Regions from separate parts of the Homo sapiens genome. Here all the other regions are linked to region 2. Evidence: promoter capture Hi-C in human tissues and cell types (Jung and others, 2019). All regions are on one chromosome and are shown on one strand. The core of a region is centred on a gene start or on the middle of the fragment in contact, and the rest is flanking DNA. Distances in the headings are between cores, read along the strand shown. Region 1 has its middle 5.5 kb from the start of LINC00622. Region 2 holds the start of REG4 (regenerating family member 4). Region 3 has its middle 30 kb from the start of ZNF697.

Evidence for each region. The method cuts DNA at HindIII sites, captures the fragments that hold promoters and counts their contacts. A contact is called where the count stands out against the background at its distance.
Region 1: a fragment that was not itself captured here is called in contact with the fragment with the promoter of REG4 in region 2 in 1 of the 25 tissues and cell types used here (liver).
Region 3: a fragment that was not itself captured here is called in contact with the fragment with the promoter of REG4 in region 2 in 1 of the 25 tissues and cell types used here (adrenal gland).

What each region holds. Positions count from the first base shown.
Region 1 is chr1:119,603,298-119,606,346 of GRCh38, reverse strand. It overlaps the pseudogene HSD3BP5. Among named protein-coding and RNA genes, the nearest start is that of LINC00622, 5.5 kb to the right of the region's middle. RefSeq lists an enhancer at 435-1,634. The HindIII fragment of the contact is 3,391 bases long and covers 90-3,049 here.
Region 2 is chr1:119,809,834-119,812,875 of GRCh38, reverse strand. It overlaps REG4 (regenerating family member 4), which reads left to right and starts at 1,416. Exons shown (of 6, transcript NM_032044.4): 1 at 1,416-1,467. The HindIII fragment of the contact is 6,627 bases long and covers 1-3,039 here.
Region 3 is chr1:119,676,452-119,679,366 of GRCh38, reverse strand. No RefSeq gene overlaps it. Among named protein-coding and RNA genes, the nearest start is that of ZNF697, 30 kb to the right of the region's middle. RefSeq lists an enhancer at 1-132. The HindIII fragment of the contact is 5,689 bases long and covers 1-2,915 here.

The DNA of each region.
Region 1 (3,049 bases), core at 536-3,035, 210 kb after region 2:
CACATGGGCAGCTGGACGTTGGGAGGAACACACCGCCCAGCAGAATGATGTGGAGTTTCCCTGGGATGGTCGGAGAAGAGTTGGGCAGTTGAACGGCCAACTCCATGGGAAAACCCTCCCCTTCTGGCATCCCCCAGCTGCTGAGAGCTACCTTCACTCAACAAAACCTGGCACTCATTCTCCAAGCCCAGGTGTGATCTAATTTCTCTGGTAACCAAAACAAGAACCCAGGATACAGAAAGCCCTCTGACCTTCCGACAAGGTAGAGGGTCTAATTTAGCTGGTTAAAACAAGCCGCCTGTAGATGTCAAAACTAAAAGAGCAAGACTAAAAGAGCACCATGTAACACACACCCACTGAGGCTTCAGGAGCTGTAAACATTCACCCCAGACACTGCTATGGTGTCGGAGTCCCACAGCCTGCCTGTCTCTATGCTCCCACAGAGGTTTGAGCAGTGAGGCATTGAAGAAGCAAGCCACACCCTCATTGCATGCCTGGTGAGGGGGATGAGGGAATTTTTCCCATTTCATTATCATAAGCCTACGCACAAGGTGACTTGTGTGTAGCACAATGATGACTATGGTGGCACCTGGAAGGTTTGATTCTGTCCCATAGAGGGATATCAAGAGTCTGAAGTTGGAATTTAGTTGACTTTTGATTGAAGCCACTATAGAAAGAGTGTCCACAGCCTTTGGAGTCACACAGGGGTGAGTTTAAAGTCTAACTCTCCTATTTACTTACTTACCTGGGGGGGCCTTGGACAAGTTACTTGCCATCTGTAGCACTGGTTTCCTCATGTAAAAAACTGAAGATAGCAGCTTTGAACTCCCCCAGTTGGTAGTGATCAGCAAAGACACTTGGTCCAGAGCATAGCAGGTGTTCAGTGGAGAGACTTCTTTTCCCTTCCTGTCCTTCTTTGTGATCCTTAATTCCCCACCTTGCTTCATCTCCTCCCCAGGCTACTGTACGTTTCACATTGATGTTCATGATGGACTCTCTGTGAGTGACACCGATGATGTCTATGATGGAGGTGGTGTGGATGATGACCGACATGTCCTGGCAGGCTCTCTTCAGGCATGACTCATCCAGAATGTCTCCTTCCAGCACCGTCAGCTTGGTCTTGTTCTGGAGCTCTGTGTGAACACCGGTCAGGTTATCAGAACGATTTCTGAAACGATTTCTGAAACTGATAAAGATGTTGTTACATAGATGTTCGAGGATGGCTAGAGTCAGGGTGTTGGAGTGGAGGGTGTACATTCCATGGAAGGAACAAGTAAACAGGGACACAGAAGTCAGAATATGTAGCAATTTATTGGGAAAGAGCAAACATCTGTTTCTACCCCATCTCATTTAAGAAAAGTAATCTGAGCAATGAGCTGTCAGGTGTGCTTGGAATATAAGCATTTCTAGAGTCATGGGAGACTCACTAAAATATTTAAAGAGAGTAAGGTGACTGTGGAGAGTTGGGTATAAGAGGGAAAATTTGAATTTAATTCTGCTGGTGATGCGGGATCATGATTTTGGGTCTCCAGCACCATGTCAAAGAAAATCCCTTATTTATATTTGGAATAAGTAGAGAAACAGGCAGAGCATGGTGGCTGACACCTGTAATTCCAGCACTTTGGGAGGCTGAGGTGGGCAGATTGCTTGCACCCAGGAGGTCAAGACCAGCCTGGACAGCCTCGTGAAACCCCGTCTCTACTAAAAACACAAAAATTAGCCAGGCGTAGTGGTGCTTGCCCATAGTCCCAGCTGTTCGGGAGGCTGAAGCAGGAGGATGAATGGGGCCCAGGAGGTGAAGGTGGCAGTGAGCAGAGATCATACCTCTGCACTCCAGCCTTGGTGGCACAGCCAAACCCTGTTAATAAAAAAAGAGAGACAGAGAAACAGAAGCAGAATTGTAATGTAGGAAGTCAACATTGGCTTGAGGATATAAAATGGACTGGTATAGGGGATATGAGAAAGTAAGGTAATTAAGATATTAATCAGAGTATCTGTGCCAAAGTTTCGATGAGGACTGGAAGCAGGGTCCAGCAGTGGAAGCAGAGCAGGGGAGAGATAAAACAGGTTTGAATTTCAGACCTTACCTTGAAGGTCCTGATACCTACTGGATCTGGGCTGAGAGAAAAAGAAGACAAAATCACCCCTATGGTTTCCTCCTTGGGCAATTGGGAGGAGAGTGGAGCCATTACTAGGGAATTGCTGATGGGCTTAAATGAGGAATTTCCATGAAAAACTCATCAGATTTGAAAAGCAGATAGCAATGCTGAAAGTTAGCGACCAATGAACTGATATTCCAGCTGTCTAGCTGAGGGCAGTGGTTAAAACTTTAATGTCTTCACGCTCCTCTGAAATCCACAAGAAGTGATGCTGCCAGTAAAGTTGTCACCTGGAATTAGCCCACGCAATGAACACTGTGGTACATGAAGCTTGGATAAATACACTACACTTGTTTGTGCTTTATAATCTGCATATGACTCACAGCTTGCTTATTTCCTTTTACAGCAATCTCATGAGATAGGTTTTCTGAGTCCCACTTTACTGGTGAGGAAACTGAGGTTCAGAGAGGTTAAGGGACAGATCAAAGGTCGCGTTTCTAGTAGAGGCTCAAACTTGCCCACTCCACCTCCAAGCCTCGTACCCTGCACACCAGGTACAGGACTGGCTGTTTAGAATAAACTTTTCTGAGAAAGAGTAAGAATAAGCCAGTTCAACTGAAATTGGCAACAAAGGCCAAAGAACAGTGAGAGTAAAATTCAGAGCGAAAAATTCAAGACCGGAGCAATTCCTTCCTGGGATACAGGCGGGACCACTTCCTCTCCTAATGCCTCTGCCATGTTTTGTCTACTCCCAGCCCCTTCCTATTGCCAGGCAACTCCAAGAAGGCCATGCTATGGGGGAGGCAGGGAAGAGGCTGCTGGGGAGGACATGGGTGACAGCCTGAGAGTGGAATTTTCTCTGGTTGTATTTCCACCTCTGCACTTCCTGCTCCCTTCCTCTGCTTCCCCTTTGCTGCCAACTTCAGACAGACTGGCTCAAAGGAATTGCC
Region 2 (3,042 bases), core at 167-2,666:
GATAGCAGACTAAGGGTTGGGATGGCTGCTGGAAACACAGGAGATCTATCTAATCACCCATTTTGTTAAAACTTTTCTGTCTTACATCTGGACCAGGACTTCTGAAATTGAAAGGCTTGGAGTTAACATCTTTGTACGCCATTGTGCCATGAAGCAATGATGATTCCCATCCAGCTGCCTAAAGAGAAAGAGGTTTGTGTCAAACATTCTGATGGGAGAGATTCTTTAAAATGTTCTTTGTGAACCATGAAAGCATTACTTTCTCATGTCCTACCATGAATTTACACAACTGATGCAAAAATCTAATAACAAAGGTTGAGTAGCATTTTCCAAACAACAGTGAGCTGGGAGCAAGGAAGCTGGCTTCTGATATCAGCTTCACCCACAACTGTCTGTGCATTAAACTAGTCACAATGTTTCTCTAGGCCTCAATTTCCTCACCAGTAGAACAAAAGAGTAAGATTTGATAACTACTATGGTCCCTTCCAGACTTAAAGTTTCCAGACATAAAGGTCCTTTACAGACTTAAATCTGTAGTTTAAAGTTGAGTCATCTCTGGCACCTACAACCTAACCCTTTGCCATCTATACTGGAAAAGAAAATCTTGTTACTCTTTTCAAATAGCCTATTTTTCAGTAGAACTGTATTTTGGCAAACACCTATATTTGGAGTCAGAAGGACAAGGTTCAGTGTCCAGGTCCACTGCTGACCAGTGTTGTGAACCTCGGAAGGTTTCTAATCTCTCTTAAGGTTGGGTTTCTTGAGTGTGTAATGGGGATATGTGTCCTATGCTGCTCACAAGGATTTTGTTGGCATCTTATTTGATGACTTCACTGAAAACCCGTTATTGTAACACACTCTGTTGATGTAAGCTATTTTGACATGATCATCCATGTTCTGCGGGAGAAGCTCAAATAGTAGATCTCTGAGGAAACTCACGCATGTTGAAGGAGTGGAGTCGGTGCTTTAGGAAGGAAAATCTGTGTGTGGGTCTCAAGTCTCACCGCATGGGTCATAACCTATTCCTGACCCTGACAGAAAATCCTTCTAGAAATAAAAGAGAAATAAAGGAAATCCACCATACCAAGGCATAAAAAGACAGCCATGAAAAAGTAACATAAGGGGAGAGGAAGATGGGCTTATAACAGATTACAGGATGTTGTCAGTTTTAATAACGTGATGTGAAGAAAAGATTCTGTTTGCACACAGGGAGAGGTTCTTTTCCTGGCTAGTCAAAGCACACCTTACGTACATTCTGAAGCCGTCTCTTATATGATTCATTTTTTTCACTGTAGATAAGACTTTTATGGATGGATTGTTTTTCTCAAATAATATTATCGCTTTGTGACTAAAGTAAAGATTATTAATTCCTGAGGCAAGAAGATATAAAAGCTCCAGAAACGTTGACTGGGACCACTGGAGACACTGAAGAAGGCAGGGGCCCTTAGAGTCTTGGTTGCCAAACAGGTAATCCTCCTCGCGGTTGATGATGGGGGACTTTCTTTAAACATCTGTTTTCCTCTGTCAGCTATTAGCCAGGCCAGAAATGACAAATTGTATTTCTAGTGAGGCTTGTCAGGCTTTCTGTTGCTGTGTTGTTTGATTTAAATTATTTACCTTCTTTTCTTCCTTCACTGCAAAGAGCATTGGCTTTGGTGTCAAGCTGTTGGGTTAAATCTTGGCTCTGCAGTCTGGTAGCTGGGAAACTTTAGAAAAGTTACTCAATCATAAGTGTCAGTGTCTTCATTTGTAACATGCATTCATGAGATCTACAGTGCAGGTTTTTTGTTTTTGTTTCTGTTTTTGTTTTTGTTTTTGTTTTTTTATGGAGTCTTGCTCTGTCTCCCAGGCTGGAGAGCAATGGTGCAATCTTGGCTCACTGCAACTTCTGCCTCCCAGGTTCAAGTGATTCTCCTGCCTCAGCCTCCTGAGTAGCTGTGATTACAGGCACTTGCCACCACGCCCAGCTAATTTTTGTATTTTTTAATAGAGACAGGGTTGTGCCATGTTGGCCAGGCTGGTCTTGAACTCCTGACCTCAGGTGATCCACCTGCCTCAGCCTCTCAAAGTGCTGGGATTTCAGCCATGAGCCACCACACCCGGCCCAGTGCAGCTTACTTATGAACATGACATGCAGACATTCAATGAATATCAGTTCACTAAAAATTATTCACAGATTAGTAAAAAAGATGCTGCCTCTCCCTTCCCCCAGATGGTCACCTTGACAGAGAAATTCTGTTTGCGTTTTAAAGGGGTTTGAGGACATTGAAAATACACTATTACTTTTGGAAGGAAAGTTTAGCAAAGTGCAAGGTTCACGCAATGATTTAAAAAGAAGTAAGGGGTGGGGAAGGTCACATCCACACTCTCCAAGCTTTGTCTCATTCTCAGTTAATGTTGCCTTAAAGTGTTCAGATGGACCCCAGAATTGATTTTCCAGAAAAGTCATCATTTACATTATTCTCTTTAAGCAATCCATTATTTGAGAGTTAGATTGTATATTCAGATTTTTTAATCATAAAGTATGATTAAATGTGAATTCAATGAATTAACTCATTTTAAGAATTATTTGGGAGGGAAATCCAGAACTCAGTTTCATACTTATGTTAAAACAAAGCCCAGACAGATGAAAATAGAACAGTGATAAATATTTTAACCTTATGTGACAGTAATGGCCAGTCTTTTGATATAAATTTAAAAATTATTTTTAAAAACATAAAAAATAACAATATTTTTGAAAATTTCAGAATGGCAAAAATTATAATAAGTAAGAGAAAAATACAAACTGAGAAATACTATTAGTAACACGTGAAAGGCAATAAACATACAAAAAAGATCTCACAAATAAACATACAAAAAAGATCTCACAAACAATGAAATAGAAAAATGTGCAAAACTGTAAAATGAAAATTCACCAAATACTAAAAGCAAATCATTATATAAAAAGATGTTCAACTTCATTAGTAATTATAAAATATTTTAAAACACTAAGGTTCTTCTTTAATATACCAAAATTAGCCAAAAACTTGACAAAATTAAGCA
Region 3 (2,915 bases), core at 243-2,742, 130 kb after region 2:
CTCTTGAACAATAGATTCAGAGAGCTACTGGGTGCTGGGAGGTGACACACCCAGAGAGGCCATTGAAGCTCTGTGCCACCCTCACCCTACTCCCCCATACCTTGCCCTCTGCGTCTCTTCCATTTGGCTGTTCCTGAGTTGTATCCTTTATAATAAGTCAGTAAATGTAAGTAAACTGTTTTTCTGAGTTCTGTGAGCTCTTATATCAAATTATTGAACTTGAGGAGGGGATCTTGGGAATCCTTGATTTATAGCTGGTAGGTCAGAAGCATGGGTGGCCTGGCCCAGATGAGACTGACATTTGAAGTCAGTGCAGTCTTATAGGACTGAGCCCTTAATCTGTGTCTGCACTAACTCCAGATAGTGTCATAATTGAATTTTTGATACCTGTTACAGGTAGTTAGGCGTGAGTGGGGCAGGAGAGGGCTCTCCCCCACCCACCAGGAATGGCAGGTGACGGTTTGATGATTATCACGTTGCCTCTCTAAAAGCGATAAATTGGCAGCCAGCCTCCAGAGAGAGGCCATTTCTTGATGGTCCATACCCATTGCACTGAAGTGTTGATTGACAGCAGACACCAGAGAGGCAATTTCCCAGGCCTGCGCATTAAGAGACAAAATGGTGGAGTATGACCTTCTGGTGGCACTCCACCAGAAAAGGGAAGAAAGTCTCAGATGGGCATGCATACAACTTCCTAAACACACTGCATGTGCTCAATTCCCAAGGGTAAGGAGGGCACTGTGCATGCAGGCAACACACCCTAAGGGAAGAATCATGGAAAGGGGGCGCAAGACGCCAGAGTTTGCCAGCCTATAAAGTCCTAGGATGATGGTTAAACCAGGCACTTGACCTTCTCAGTGCCCACTTGCGTCCCTTCCGAAAGCACTTTCCTTTCCTGCTCTAAAGCTTTTTAATAAACTTCCACTCCTACAATGAAACTTGCCTCAGTCTTTTTTCTGCCTTATGCCCCTCAGTTGAATTCTTTCTTCTGAGGAGGCAAGAATTGAGGTTGCTGCAGACACATATGAATTTGCCACCGATAACCAGGATATCTTCCACTGGTAACATACCCAGTTGATGTCAGAGAATTGATGAGCATCAGAAACCACCCCAGAGAAGCTATACATGGTAAGGGCCCTAAATTCCCAAGGGAGCATAAACAGGGTGTCTTAGAGTTTTGGTTCAGTTCTACTGGAAGGCGTGATGTACTGAGAAAGAGCTTAGGGTCAACCAGCCACCTTCAAATTAAATGAGACCTACAGGCTCTGAGCAGTTGCCTTGCCCCTCACTGATACAGCAGGAGTTCTTACCTGGGGTTCAGGTATGCCTAAGGGTCTATGCACAGACTTTGGGAAATTGTTTGCTTATGAGTGCTTTTTTCTTGAGGGAAGGCTGAGTTGCTTAGATCAGATTCTCACAAGACCTTGTGACTGACAACTCTAGAAACTTTCCCACAACTGTCAGCAAGGCAAAGTTAATGGGCTAAACATTTTACATATATATAAGTATGTGTACATCGGGGTTGAATGTAGACCCCAATGTATTAAATCCCTCATAATTATAGCTTCAACACAATCCATATTCACAATATAGTATATAATACATTAGGATGTACATTCAAACCTGTTCTTTTTAAAGCCCAACTGGCAATGTGATTCACTAGCTTCAGCATGTGGTGCTTGGTTGGAATGAGCTTAATCAGTTTGATAGCATCATAGACTTTAAGTTAATGAAAACAGAAAGTTTGGAAAAAGACAACACCGTGGGGGAATGATCAGAATGCAGAGGTCGATCTAGTTTTGATGCATAAAACAAAACATGCTGCAGAGATTTGTAGCAGAAAGAGGCACAGGAAATAGCTGTATTCAGGTGACTTTCGGGTGGGAGTGGGGGCTGCTCTGGTAGATACCTTACCTAAAGAGAAGTCTTGTTCTTTTTCCTAAACAGAAACTGATTAACCTGAAACTTCGAAGAAAGAACACTCCTGACCTTGTGGTTCTTGCTGACCTAGGATCAGCAGTTGACCTTATTTAAAAATTAGCCATGTAGAAATGTGGGCAGAGGTTAGAGTCACAGTGTGTCAGAAACGTTGGGAAGAAGCTTAGAAATCTTCTTTTTTTAATTTTTTAATTTTTTTATTCTTGAGACAGAGTCTCATTCTATCACTTACACTGGAGTGCAGTGCCAAGAATATGGCTCATTGAAGCCCCAACCTTCTGGGTTAAGCAATCCTCTCACTTCAGCCTCCCAAGTAGCTGGGACCGCAGACCCACGCCACTACACTCAGCTAATTTTTTAAATTTTGTAGAGACGGGGTCTTGCTATGTTGCTCAGGCTGGTCTCCAAGTCCTGGGCTCAAGTGATCCTCCTACTTTGGCCTCCCAAGGTGCTGGGATTACAGGCATTAGCCACTACACTCAGTCCAGAGAGCCTCTTTGATGGGTTACTAATTGTTGGCCATAAACACAAGTGCTTTTTGGCCCATGGAGTGTTTCAAAAGTAATTGGAGCCAATATTGGCTCCAAACTAAGGGATTTCACAAGATAATAAAGATTTCTATTTCTTTTGAAAAGACTGAAAACATTGCAACACTGGCCTCTAGTGCCCACTTGGGACCACTCAGTGACAGCAGTCCCCCTTAGAAGGTGATGAGTTTGCAGACTATCCTGGGGCCCACTCTTAGGAGACTAGGGATTGTGTTATTGGGGAATTGAGAGGAGCAGAGCTGAAAGACAGGAAAGAGGCCGGGCGCAGTGGCTCACGCCTGTAATCCCAGCACTCTGGGAGGCCGAGGCGGGCGGATCACAAGGTCAGGAGATCAAGACCATCCTAGCTAACACAGTGAAACCCCGTCTCTACTAAAAATATAAAAAATTAGCCGGGCGTGGTGGCGGGCGCCTGTAGTCCCAGCTACT